Regions from separate parts of the Homo sapiens genome. Here regions 1 and 3 are each linked to region 2. The links are contacts of gene promoters, found by promoter capture Hi-C in blood cells and fetal thymus (Javierre and others, 2016). All regions are on one chromosome and are shown on one strand. The core of a region is centred on a gene start or on the middle of the fragment in contact, and the rest is flanking DNA. Distances in the headings are between cores, read along the strand shown.

Evidence for each region. The method cuts DNA at HindIII sites, captures the fragments that hold promoters and counts their contacts. A CHiCAGO score of 5 or more calls a contact.
Region 1: the fragment with the promoter of BET1L here is called in contact with the fragment with the promoter of PNPLA2 in region 2 in 5 of 17 cell types (neutrophils, total CD8 T cells, fetal thymus and 2 more); the score reaches 11.8 in neutrophils.
Region 3: the fragment with the promoter of SIRT3 here is called in contact with the fragment with the promoter of PNPLA2 in region 2 in 1 of 17 cell types (non-activated CD4 T cells); the score reaches 6.5 in non-activated CD4 T cells.

The regions. Positions count from the first base shown.
Region 1 is chr11:206,149-209,756 of GRCh38, reverse strand. BET1L (Bet1 golgi vesicular membrane trafficking protein like) reads left to right here and starts at 2,358. Exons shown (of 4, transcript NM_001098787.2): 1 at 2,358-2,454. The coding sequence starts at 2,436. RIC8A (RIC8 guanine nucleotide exchange factor A) reads right to left here and starts at 2,049. Exons shown (of 10, transcript NM_001286134.2): 1 at 819-2,049; 2 at 439-486; 3 at 1-350. The coding sequence starts at 902. MIR6743 (microRNA 6743) reads right to left here and starts at 421; the gene lies at 351-421. RefSeq lists enhancers at 843-1,462, 1,438-1,607, 1,463-2,084, 2,631-3,132, 3,443-3,608 and 1 more and silencers at 667-776, 847-1,136, 1,137-1,335, 2,397-2,516, 2,627-2,686. The HindIII fragment of the contact is 6,341 bases long and covers 1-3,608 here.
Region 2 is chr11:817,521-821,271 of GRCh38, reverse strand. It overlaps PNPLA2 (patatin like domain 2, triacylglycerol lipase), which reads right to left and starts at 2,358. Exons shown (of 10, transcript NM_020376.4): 1 at 2,314-2,358; 2 at 1,367-1,698. The coding sequence starts at 1,553. RefSeq lists enhancers at 724-773, 2,309-2,603 and a silencer at 1,224-2,113. The HindIII fragment of the contact is 6,852 bases long and covers 1,877-3,751 here.
Region 3 is chr11:234,402-238,297 of GRCh38, reverse strand. It overlaps SIRT3 (sirtuin 3), which reads left to right and starts at 1,956. Exons shown (of 7, transcript NM_012239.6): 1 at 1,956-2,250. The coding sequence starts at 1,970. It overlaps PSMD13 (proteasome 26S subunit, non-ATPase 13), which reads right to left and starts at 1,322. Exons shown (of 13, transcript NM_002817.4): 1 at 1,154-1,322. The coding sequence starts at 1,248. RefSeq lists enhancers at 1,071-1,310, 1,471-1,660 and a silencer at 1,811-1,890. The HindIII fragment of the contact is 9,250 bases long and covers 1-3,896 here.

The DNA of each region.
Region 1 (3,608 bases), core at 1,109-3,608, 610 kb after region 2:
TGGACATCGTGGGGGAAGCTCCTCTCACGGTACAGCCCCACACGCTCTGTGAGCTTCACCACTAGGCGGGCCTCTGCTGCCAGCATCTGTGCCACAGGGCTGCTGAGCACGAGGTTGCACAGGCACTTGAGGGACTCCAGTACAACATCCATGTCTGCGGACTCTGGGACGGACCCCTCAGAGACAGAGATGTCAGCATAGCAGGCTAGTGCCTGCAGGCTCTGGCGGCTGGTGAACGGGTCCAGGCAGTTGCGGTCCCGGGACAGGATTCGGACACTCTGCAGCCAGATGACACGGTGGGAGGGTGGCAAGCCCTGTTCCAGGACGGAGACCAGCAGCTCCGCCAGTCTCTGTGGGCAGGGAGAAGAGCGGCTCCACCAGGCCCTTCTTCCTGGGGCCACCCGTCCCTGCCCCTTTACCCCTTGGGCCAGCACCCACCTTCCGGTCCTCCTGTTGGGCATCATCAAACGTGAAGCTCTGGGAGTGCTGCAGAGAGAACTAGTGAATTCAAATCCACAGAGGGGTAGGATCCGCGTCCGCTGATGCGGGCGGCCTATTGGCCTCTAACTCAGGCAGCAGCCACTGCTCAGAACGGATGGCAGGGTCGGCACTCGCCCCCATCCCTACACGCCTGCCACCCAACGGGTGCACCCCCACTCTCCCCGCAACACTGCATCCCAGACCTGCCCCCCGCACCCCGCCGCGTCCCCTACGCTTGCTGACACAGCCTCTGCCTCACCCACGCCCTCCCTGCTACCCGCGCACGACCCTGCCCCACCCCCTCCGTGCCCGCCCCCCGGCCTCAGGCGGCCGCTTACCTCCTGGTTGTATGACCGCAGAGCTTCCATAATCACATCCTCCTCACCCGTCTCCACGGCTTCTGCAACCGCCCGGGGCTCCATGGCGCGCCGGGGAAGGCGGGACGGGCCCTTCCTCAGCCGTTCCGGGCCGCAGTTCGCCGGCCCCGCCCTGGCCCAGAAAGCCCCGCGCCAGCGCGCGGGGGAGGCCGGGACGGGGCGCGGCGTCTGGTGGCGCTTTAACGGGGCGCAGCGTCTGGTGGCGCTTTAAGGGGGCGCGGCCTGAGGCAGAACTGGCGGCTCGGAGGTTTTAAGACCCGAGTCGAGGGGCTGAGTCGCTCTGAACCGAACTGACCCCTCTCCTTGTGACCCGCGCTTCTTGGGCCAGAAGTTCCAACAGGAAACGATCTCAGCCCCCACCGTGCCCTGCCACACACACAGTGACGCCCCTCGAGCTCCACAGAACCGATGGGATGTAGAGGGGAAAGCCGAAGTGGAAAGGAATTTTCAGTCCTGGGCCATTGGGTTCGTTAGGCGTTTGCTGGGGAATGCAGGCGAACGGGATTCCCAGGTCCCTGCCTTTGTGGAGCTTATGTTCCAGAGGGGAAGGGGGACAAGGAAAAACAAAAGGACACGAGGCGGTCACAGGGCTGTGCTTCAAAAGAAGCAAAAGGCGACTGCTGGGCTGCAACGGGCTGTGAGGAAGTGCTGTTTTTGCTGACACCGGACGGTGGGAAGTGAGCCGGGAAAAGACTGGAGGAGCCACTCCAGGCAGAAGGAGCAGCACTTGCAAAGGTGGAGGGGCCGAGAGAAAGGGGAGCAACCCAGTCTGGCCTGGACTCAGTTCCCTCTTGAAAAGCAAAGATCCTGCGTGTCCGTTTCAGTGGCCGTCATGAGGATTCAGTGACGCACAGGAAGCGCGATCCACTCGCTCTTCTAACAAGTGCCCGGGAGCAAAGGCGTCTACGGCCCCCAGTCCCCGCGCCGCCTCCCAGTCTCTCTCCCGGCTTCACTTTCCTGTAGTGCGTTCTGTACGGCTGTATTCGACGCGGCGCGCACTCGCAGGCACGAGCGAGGCGCCGATCTCCACTTGACAGAGGAGGCACCCCTGCCCCCACCACACCCAGTGCTCCTCGCGGGCTTCTGCCCGAGGGGTCTGCTCCTTCCTCATGACCCGCCTGTGAATCCTTCCTAACCGTTAGGACCTAACCCACAGAAGCGTCTTTCCACCACCATCGTCTAGGCACTGAGCAAGCAAACGGCCCCGCCCCGCCCCACGTTCACAGGAACACCAAACGTCACATCCGCGGTGCTGCTGTAATCCCAGCACCTTGGGAGCCCGGCAGGCGGGGGCTGCAGTGAGCTGAGATCGCGCCACTGTCTGCGCGACAGTGCTGAAAATAAGCCACAGATATGCCCATCGCTTCCGCGCCCGGCAGTTCCCCACCCTCGGCCCTAAGCCGGAAGTCAGCGAGCCCGAAGCGGAAGGGGCTGGGCTATCTAGGGGCGTGGTCGGTGCGGAGGCGGGGCCATCGCTAGCTGGGGGCGGGGCCGGAAGCTCTTTCCCCGCGACTGCGCCACGTCTGAGGCGGCTGTGGCCGCGTCGGTGTCCGCGTCGAGGAGCCGGGGCAGGGCACGATGGCGGACTGGGCTCGGGGTGAGCGCGGGAGAGCGGAGCCGTTGGGGGCAGGGCCGGGCCGAAACCGACGCCGCTGCCTGTAGAGCCGCGTGCGCCTGCCTCTGGCCCAGCTGGGGTGACCTCGGCCGAGAGGACCCTGTCAGGGGGGCGGATTCGGATCCTTCCGGGTCCGAGCAGGGCCGGGTTTCGGCCGGCACTGCCGTTAGGACCGAAGGCGCGCGTGGCGGCCCAGCAGCTCCAGCGAGGGGTCGCGCAGCAGCGGGGTCTCCCCACTCCCCGCCGCCCCCTGTGAGATCGTTCTGCATGGGTTCGGGGTGAGCGGGAGTCGGCATTCGACAGGTCCCGAGGCCAGGCCCTAGGAGTAGAGGCTGTGCTCCGCTGGTGTCCAAGCAGGACTCTTACTTTGGCCTCGGTGGCCCCATTTCCCCTCCTGGAGCCCGTGTTCTTGTCTGCAAAGTGGGATATTGATGCCTGTCTCTGTGAGGTGTTATGATGATTAAAGGAATTTATAAATATGAAGTGGCTGGAAGGACGCTGGCATCCCTTCCTGACACTGAAGCTAGGGAGGAGGTGGTTCTCACGCACCTGATGTGACAGAACTTCCTTATCCCCTGGCCCAGCCTGTCACAGGCCAGGCCTCTGCGAGCACTCTGCCCTGGGTGTTGCAGGAAGCCCCATGCGGGATGCAGACCAAGGATCCCGCTCCTGGTCGACCTCAGCTCCCGTCTCGGGGAAATTGGGAACTTTGCTCAGCCATTTTCTGTGCGGTAAAGGGCCTTCCCAATGTTCTGTCCTGGTTCCTTGCCACCTCTTCAGGACCTAGCTCAAAGGTCGTCTCTGCAGGAGCCTTTCTGCTGCCTTGCTGGGTACTTTTCCCAAGTCTTTTCTATGCTCTTAGCAGAGTTTACTCTTTTTCTATAAGAATGGGCTCCACATACACAGATGGTGACCTCCCTGGATGCAAGTGTCACATCATACTAGCACCCCAGGGCTGGGTCCAGTTTTTGCTACACAGTCTCAGAAGGTGCTGGTTGGACCGAACCCATTGTGGGTGCTTGCCCATCCCCACCTTGATGTGTACACAGGACATGTGTTCACATGACAGGCCCTTACACACATCGTCCTTTATGCAGCCTGTCTCATGTGCAAGATTCACCTGCTGGAACCTTGGT
Region 2 (3,751 bases), core at 1,109-3,608:
GACCCACAAAACCCATCCCGGCACACAGGTCACAGTTCACAGGCCCGGGAGTGTTGGGCTGGAAGTAGTCAGGGCCCAGTTCCTAGGAAGGCACACCTGTGTCCCACTGCAGCCAAGAGGAAGCACCCCAAACACTCCTCTTGGGGCGCAGGAGTGCTGGCCAGCTTGGGGATAGTCCCTGGAAGTGGTCGGGAGCACTGAGGGAGGAGCTGAGGTCCAAGCCCTCCTCCAGTGCATCACCCTGGTCAGGAGTGGGGCAGTGTGGAGCCAGGGGCTCTTCAGCCAGCACCTGCTGCACTATGGGCTCCAGCTGTGCAAGACCACCCGTGAGAAGGAGTCTTGTTGGGAGCAGGGTGGGGAAGCACTGTGGGAGAGGTGTCCTTGGCTCGGGTAGCAGGGACCTTGATGTATCTTGAAGCCAGGGGGCCGACTGAGGCGCTTGTCTGAAGGCCTCCATGAGAGGGAGGGGGCTGGAGGGGGCTGTTCCCAATAATAGCTCTAGTTATTGGGACCTGAGAGGTTCACTTCTGTGGTCCAGCCCCCTCCCTCCCAGGACAAAGTTCAGAGGAAGAGGGCAGGGGTGAGCCCCGGACAGGCTCCTGCTGAGCAGAGTGCCCCTGTCATCTTGGGTGTCCTCACAGGCTCCTGAAGTCGTGTGCTGTAAACATCACTCCCTCATGGCAGCCGATGGTGCGAGCCGAGGCCAGCCCAGCACACAGAGACCCATCCACTCCTGACCCAGGCACCAGAGCCCAGAAGCACCCTCACCCATGAAGTGTGCAAACGCGGTGGGCCGCAGCGGGGAGCCAGGCCACAGGGCACCGTGTGCAAGGAGAGGGCAGGAGAGCCCCTTCGCGCCCAGCCCTGACCTCAGCGGGGCTCCTCCTCCGGGCCCTTGGGAAGGACCAGGTCACGGTTCCCAGACGCCTCTCAAGAGGCTACCCCCATGCCAGGCCCCCTGATAGCAGCCTGCAACTGCGGAAGCCCAGGACACTGTGACCGATCGCTGGCACCGGTTGTAATATCCAGGGCCACGGGGTGACTTAGGTCCCTCCTCGGATTCTCACGGTCCCGCCCACGAGTTACTTTTTCTGTCCAATTAAGCAGCTTTTGCTGCACCTGCCCGCCCCCAAACCTTTGCGCCAGACAGGCGGGCCCCGGGCACCCTCGGAGCAAAACAAACCAGGCCCCGCCCCCAGGCCAGCGACCCGGATTGGATCCTCGCCGGGTTCCCCAGGCGCGGACCGGAACCCTCCCCACGGTACCCACCGACTCGCCGCGGGGCCCCTCCGCTCACGGAGACCATCCCCCGGCCCCGCACGGCCTTCCCGCCAGCCCCCCGCCTGCCGCCCCCGGCCCCGCTCACCCAGGCAGACCCCGGTGACCAGCGCCGTGGCCGTGAGCGCCCCGGCCGAGGCGCCGTAGATGTGCGTGGCGTTGGCCACCAGGAAGGGCGCGTGCTCGCGGAGGCAGGAGGCCACGCCGACGTAGTAGACGCCGAGGAAGCCGCAGCCCGCGAACGAGATGTTCCACGTCTTCTCGCGGGGAAACATCGCGGCGGCGGCCGCCGGGCCCCGGGTTCCGTGGGCGGCCAGGCCTCTGTGAGCCGCCTGCTCGCCGCTCGCTCGCTGGAGCCGGGGGCCGGGCAGGTCCCGCTGCGGCTCTAGCTCGGGGTCCCCGCTGGCGGAGGCGAAGAAGCTACGCGGGCGGCGCGGAGGCGGCGCTTTTAAGTGTGGGACTCACGGCGGGGGCGGGGCCGGCACACGAAGACCAATCGGGGCGCGCAGGGAACGGCCGTGCCCTCGGGACCCGCCCCCGTCCTTGACCCGGCCCCCCGCGCTGGAGCCCCGCCCTCCGCTGCCGCCCGGAGAAAGCTTCTGCCCTCCCTCCGCCCCTGCTGGGCACGGCTGGGGGCACACGCCTAGGGGTGTAGGGTGGGCTGGGCGCAGGCCCGAGCCTGGGGGCCGGAAGCCTCACACAGACCTGGGTACCGGCGAGAGGGAGCTCTGGTTTCAGGGCAGCCACCGCCCCTCCCCACCGGGTCCGCCTCCCACACCCACCCGGGACAGAGGAGCTGGTCCCTGGACAGAGGCGCACCGGCAGCACCCCCAGACCTGAAAGCCGCACAGGCCTCGGGAGCCCCGGGACCCACAGGCTCACCCACAGACAGACCCATAAACATCCAAGGCCAAGGCCGGATGCGAGTCCCGCAAACCCTTCGTGGGGGACCCCAGCTCCGCAGACCCACGCGACCTGACGTGGGGCCTCAGCCCTGCCCCGCGCCCGCGACCCTTCCGGACCTTGGCTTCTTACCTGGGTCTGGCCCTGCCTGTTCAGGCTTTGGGGCTGCCTGCGTCTGACTGGGGCCGCCCTGCTCCCGATAATTGCCCCAGAGGTGGAGCAATCCTGGGTGATGTCACCCTTTCACCCCTTTTCCGCATTTTTCTCCTGGTCAGTGGAGCAAACAGGGCTTGGAGTAGATCCAGGATCCCTCCCTGAACCTCACCCCACCCCCAAACGAGAGGCTTTCTCAGGTTGGGGTGGGAGGCAATGAGATTCTGTCTCCCCAGGAACACTGGCTCCCCAGGCTGAGGTCATCTCTGGACCTAGCTGTTGCCAGAGCTGCAGAGGGTCTGGGATGGGGCTTGGGGCTGCCCCCAACCCAAGCTGAGTTAGGGAAGCCAGAACAGGGCCAGAACAGGATGGGGCCATCTAGGGGGATGCTGCCCAGTCCTCAGCCTCTTTGCTCCCAGCCATCCCAGACAGCACTGGAAAGTCAACCCTGCCCCAGCCCTACTGGGGGCCGGTAGGCATTTACATAAGCTCAAAATGAGAGGAGGCCGGGTGTGGAAGCTCACACCTGTAATCCCAGCACTTGGGGAGGCCAAGACGGGCGGATCACAGAAAGTCGGGAGTTTGAGACCGCCTGGCTGGTGAAACGCTGTCTCTACCAAAAATACAAAAATTAGCCGGTCAGGGTGGCACACGCCTGTAATCCCAGCTACTCGGGAGGCTGAGGCAGGAGAATCACTTGAACCTGGGAGGCGGAGGTTGCAGTGAGCTGAGATCGCACCACTGCACTCCAGCCTGGGGGGCAGAGCGAGGCTCCGTCCTAAAAAGAGGCCGGGCACAGTGGCCCATGCCTGTAATCCCAGCACTTTGGGAGGCCGAGGAGGGCAGATCACCTGAGGTCAGGAGTTTGAGACCAGCCAGGCCAACATGGCAAAACCCTGTCTCTACTGAAAATACAAAAATTTGCCAGGTGTGGTAGTGCACGCATGTAGTCCTAGCTACTCGGGAGGCTGAGGCAAGAGAGTCACTTGAACCCGGGAGGCAGAGGTTGCAGTGAACTGAGATTGTGCCACTGCACTCCAGCCTGGCCAGGTGACAGAGCATGACTTCTTCTCAAAAAAAAAAAAAAAAAGAAAAAAGAAAAATGAGTGAGAGGAGGTAGGTAACCACGTGTGGGGCACCTAAGGGGTTCTGGAGGGCTTCCCTGTGGGAAGTGATGCTGAGTTGAATTTTGAAGGGTAAATGAGCAGACCCAGGCAGCCGACCAGGACAGGCGAAGATTGTCGGGGAGTGAGGGGAGAGAGTAGCTGAAGCCCAGCCATGGGAGAGGGTCAAGCAGGGAGGACGTGACCATACCTGACTTAAAGCGACTCCTTCTAGGCTGGGCACAGTGGTTCACACCTATAATCCCAGCACTCTGGGAGGCCAAGGTGGGGGGATTGCTTGAGTCCAGAAGTTT
Region 3 (3,896 bases), core at 707-3,206, 580 kb after region 2:
TCACTGGAAACGAGAACTTTGGAATCATACATATCTAACTTGAGATGCTGGCTCTTCTACCTATTAGCTGAGTATCTCAGGGAAGGCAATTAAAATGAGCTTCAGTTTCCTCCTCTGTGAAAAGGATGAATAAAGGATTAAATAAGCTAATATTTAAAACCTCAGGGACAGTGACATAGCGCTTCATCCAAAACCCAAAGGCTAATATTTAATAACGCAGATAAAATGCTTTGAAAATTACCAAGTGCTATCCAACACAAACCATTATTTGCCAAACATTAATTTGCTCTCAAAAACTGCTAATAGCAGAAGGCTGCTGAATGCTAAACATCATCAAAACATGTATGGAACATCTATGTGAAAGGTATTATATTAAATGCTAGGGTTAACAGGGAGGTTACTACAGGAGATGTATTTTCTATGGAATAGCTCCAGCCCAATGCCAGCAATTTATTCTACTCATATTAAAAGGAGGTTAGTGCTTAGCAAGAATTTAATTGCTCTGCAATTCATCCTGTTTCTAAACAAACCTAAACTTTAAGATCTTTCTAGGGGCAGAAAGCCCATGAGAAATACAATGGAAGGTAAAGACAATGGGACGGCGGAAGTGGTTGCACCCCGTGCAACCAGCTGCAGAATGAATAGGGAAAACAGCAAAGCTGTACTAGCCTCTGGTTTATCAACTCCAGACCATGAGAAAGATAACTGTAGATACAGTTACACTATGACAAGGCTAAGCACGAATCACCAACATGTTTCCCAAAGTGGGTGGTGGCCCTGAAAGTGTGTTTGCTTGTTAGATGGAATCAAGAGCTAAAATCAAAGGCTACTCCTGAACCGTTTTAGTAAGACCCGAGGTAGGAGTTCAGAAGCCTCAGTCTCAGTCCCCCGTTAAGGAAGCAGTGAATCTCAGACCGAAACATCCTGGCTACAGCTCTTGGCCCTCGTGGTCTGTCATCCCTCTTATTCCTCGACCCTGCCACTCAAGGTTCCTCAGCAAACCTTGCCGGCACAGCCGGTCGCTACACGTCCCCGTTTCCCCCCAACTTGGGTCTGGGCGCCCTCAGCCCATCAAGGGTCCGCTCCTCCGCCCGCCTGCCCCCTCCGTCTCCCTCTATCGCCGGGGCCCAGGGCCCGTCTGCTCGGCGCTCACTTCTTCGTGTAGAGCTCCTCCAGACGGTGCCACACAGCGGGCTGCCCGGGCCCGGAGTTCTGGCTCTGCTGTAGGAAGCCCGGTACGTCCTTCATGACAGCAGGAAGACCCCCGGCACAGAAGAACAACCGGGATGTCAGCACCGCGGGGATGGCTGCCGGAAATGCTCACTCACTTCCGGCGCCGAGCGGCGCGGGGCAGGCTGGGAGCGCCGTAGCAGGCCGGGGGCGGGCCCCGCTGGTTGCTCGGTTACAGCGCGTCTCTGCGCTCCGGACAAAACTCTCCGGCGTTTGCAGCCCACTTCCCGCGCACTTGGCTGTGCCATTGAGGCGTCAAAGAGTGTGGGCGCCTGTGGTCGAACCCGCTACGGACTAGCTTTGTGGTGTCAGCCTTTGTGACCCGGAATTGCTCCTGTCAAATGAGGATCTTCCCAGTAGTGTTTTGCGAGGATTAGGTGTAAATATAATGCCTGACCATAGTAAAAGCGCTCAGAAAGTATTAACTATCACCGCCATCCGGGTTGAAAAAGGTGTGAGCGCAGGGTACAGAAATGCTGGCTCCAGGTTTGACCTCCGGGGCGAGAGATGAGACACCAGACTAGGGAACTTCCTCTACTCGCCTCTACGTCTACCTGGGCGCGCCGGAGGCGTCGGCAAGGAGGCGGGGGCGGGGCGCGGAGGCGGGACCGGGGCGCCGGGGGCGGGGGCGGTAGGCGGAGGCGGGGCTGGGGCGCCGGGGGCGGGGGTGGGAGGCGGAGGCGGGGCCGGGGCGCCGGGGGCGGGGCGAGTCCGGAGGACTCCTTGGACTGCGCGGAACATGGCGTTCTGGGGTTGGCGCGCCGCGGCAGCCCTCCGGCTGTGGGGCCGGGTAGTTGAACGGGTCGAGGCCGGGGGAGGCGTGGGGCCGTTTCAGGCCTGCGGCTGTCGGCTGGTGCTTGGCGGCAGGGACGATGTGAGTGCGGGGCTGAGAGGCAGCCATGGGGCCCGCGGTGAGCCCTTGGACCCGGCGCGCCCCTTGCAGAGGCCTCCCAGACCCGAGGTGCCCAGGGCATTCCGGAGGCAGCCGAGGGCAGCAGCTCCCAGTTTCTTCTTTTCGAGGTATTTTGGGCAAGGACAAGCACTTCTTGCGTGTTCGTTGTCGACACCTCGCCCACTCTTTCTCACCTTGCCGTGTTTCCTTTGCGGCATGTCTGGGAGTTTACGTGCGTTCCAACACCGGGGCCTCCGTCTTTATGCTGATCTGTGGACGTCACTTATGGGGGTTTTGTCGTTTATTTCACCATTCCCTCATTGAAATACGTTCTAACCTTTAGTTATTGTGCATCATGCTGTGGTGAATAACCTTGTTGGCACCTCACTGTTTGCATAAATTCCTAGTACTGGGATTGCTAGGTCCAAAAGTATATGCATTTAACGCTTTAATGATCCCTCATAAATGTTGTGCGGTTAATACTCCCACTGGCATGTGATCGTACCCGTCTCCATAGTAATTGCATCTAAGAACTGAGGCTACATAGGAAAAAATCTTAAGGTCCATGGTTGTTAGGTATCAGATGCCCTATAATGGATGAATATTTAAGTAAATAATGGCACATTGACTTGCTGTCTGACACAACTGCTGAAAATGTTGGTGAAAAGTGAGTCTCGAAGTGGTAGCTCACACTTGTAATACCAGCACTTTCGGAGGCTGAGACGGGGATCGCTCGAGGCCAGGAGTTCAAGAGCAGCCTGGGCAACATAACGAGACCCCCATCTCTACCAAAAATTTAAAAATTAGCCGGGCATGGTGGCGCAAGCCTGTTGTCCCAGTTACTCCTGAGACTAAGGCAAGAGGATCCCTTGAGTCCAGGAGTTCAAGGCTGCAGTGAGCTATGATTGAGCCACTGCACTCCAGCCTGGGTGACAGAGCAAGACTCTTATCTACCTGTGGGAAAAAAAAAAGAAAAAAGTTTAATAGATCCTGAAGAGTTGGCCGGGCGCGGTAGCTCACGCCTGTAATCCCAGCACTTTGGGAGGATGAGACGGGTGGATAACGAGGTCAGGAGTTCGAGACCAGCTGGGCCAACATGGTGAAACCCCATTTCTACTGAAATTACAAAAATTAGCCGGGCGTGGTGGCGGGCGCCTGTAATCCTAGCTACTCAGGAGGCGGAGGCAGGAGAATCACTTGAACCCGGAAGGCAGAGGTTGCAGTGAGCCGAGATGGCACCATTGCACTCCAGCCCGGGCGAAAGAGCAAAAACTCCGTCTCAAAAAAAAACAAAGATCCCGAAGAGTCAGTCGTTCATCCAAGAAGCCCTGACTGAGCTCTTATTCTGTGCCAGACTCTGTTCTAGGTGCTATGGATGGAGCAGGGACCAGGACCTACAAACACGTGGAGCGCATTCTAATATCTGTGATACTCTGCAAAACTGTTAAAACAAATCCTTGCGGCCGGGCGCGGTGGCTCACGCCTGTAATTCCAGCACTTTGGAAGGCCGAGACGGGCGGATCACGAGGTCAGGAGATCGAGACCATCCTGGCTAACACAGTGAAACCCCGTCTTTACTAAAAATACAAGGAAATTAGCCAGGCGTGGTGGCGGGTGCCTGTAGTCCCAGCTACTCGGGAGGCTGAGGCAGGAGAATGGCGTGAACCTGGGAGGCGGAGCTTGCAGTGAGCCGAGATCGCGACACTGCACTCCAGCCTGGGCAACAGAGCGAGACTCCGTCTCAAAACAAAACAAAACAAAACAAAACAAAAAT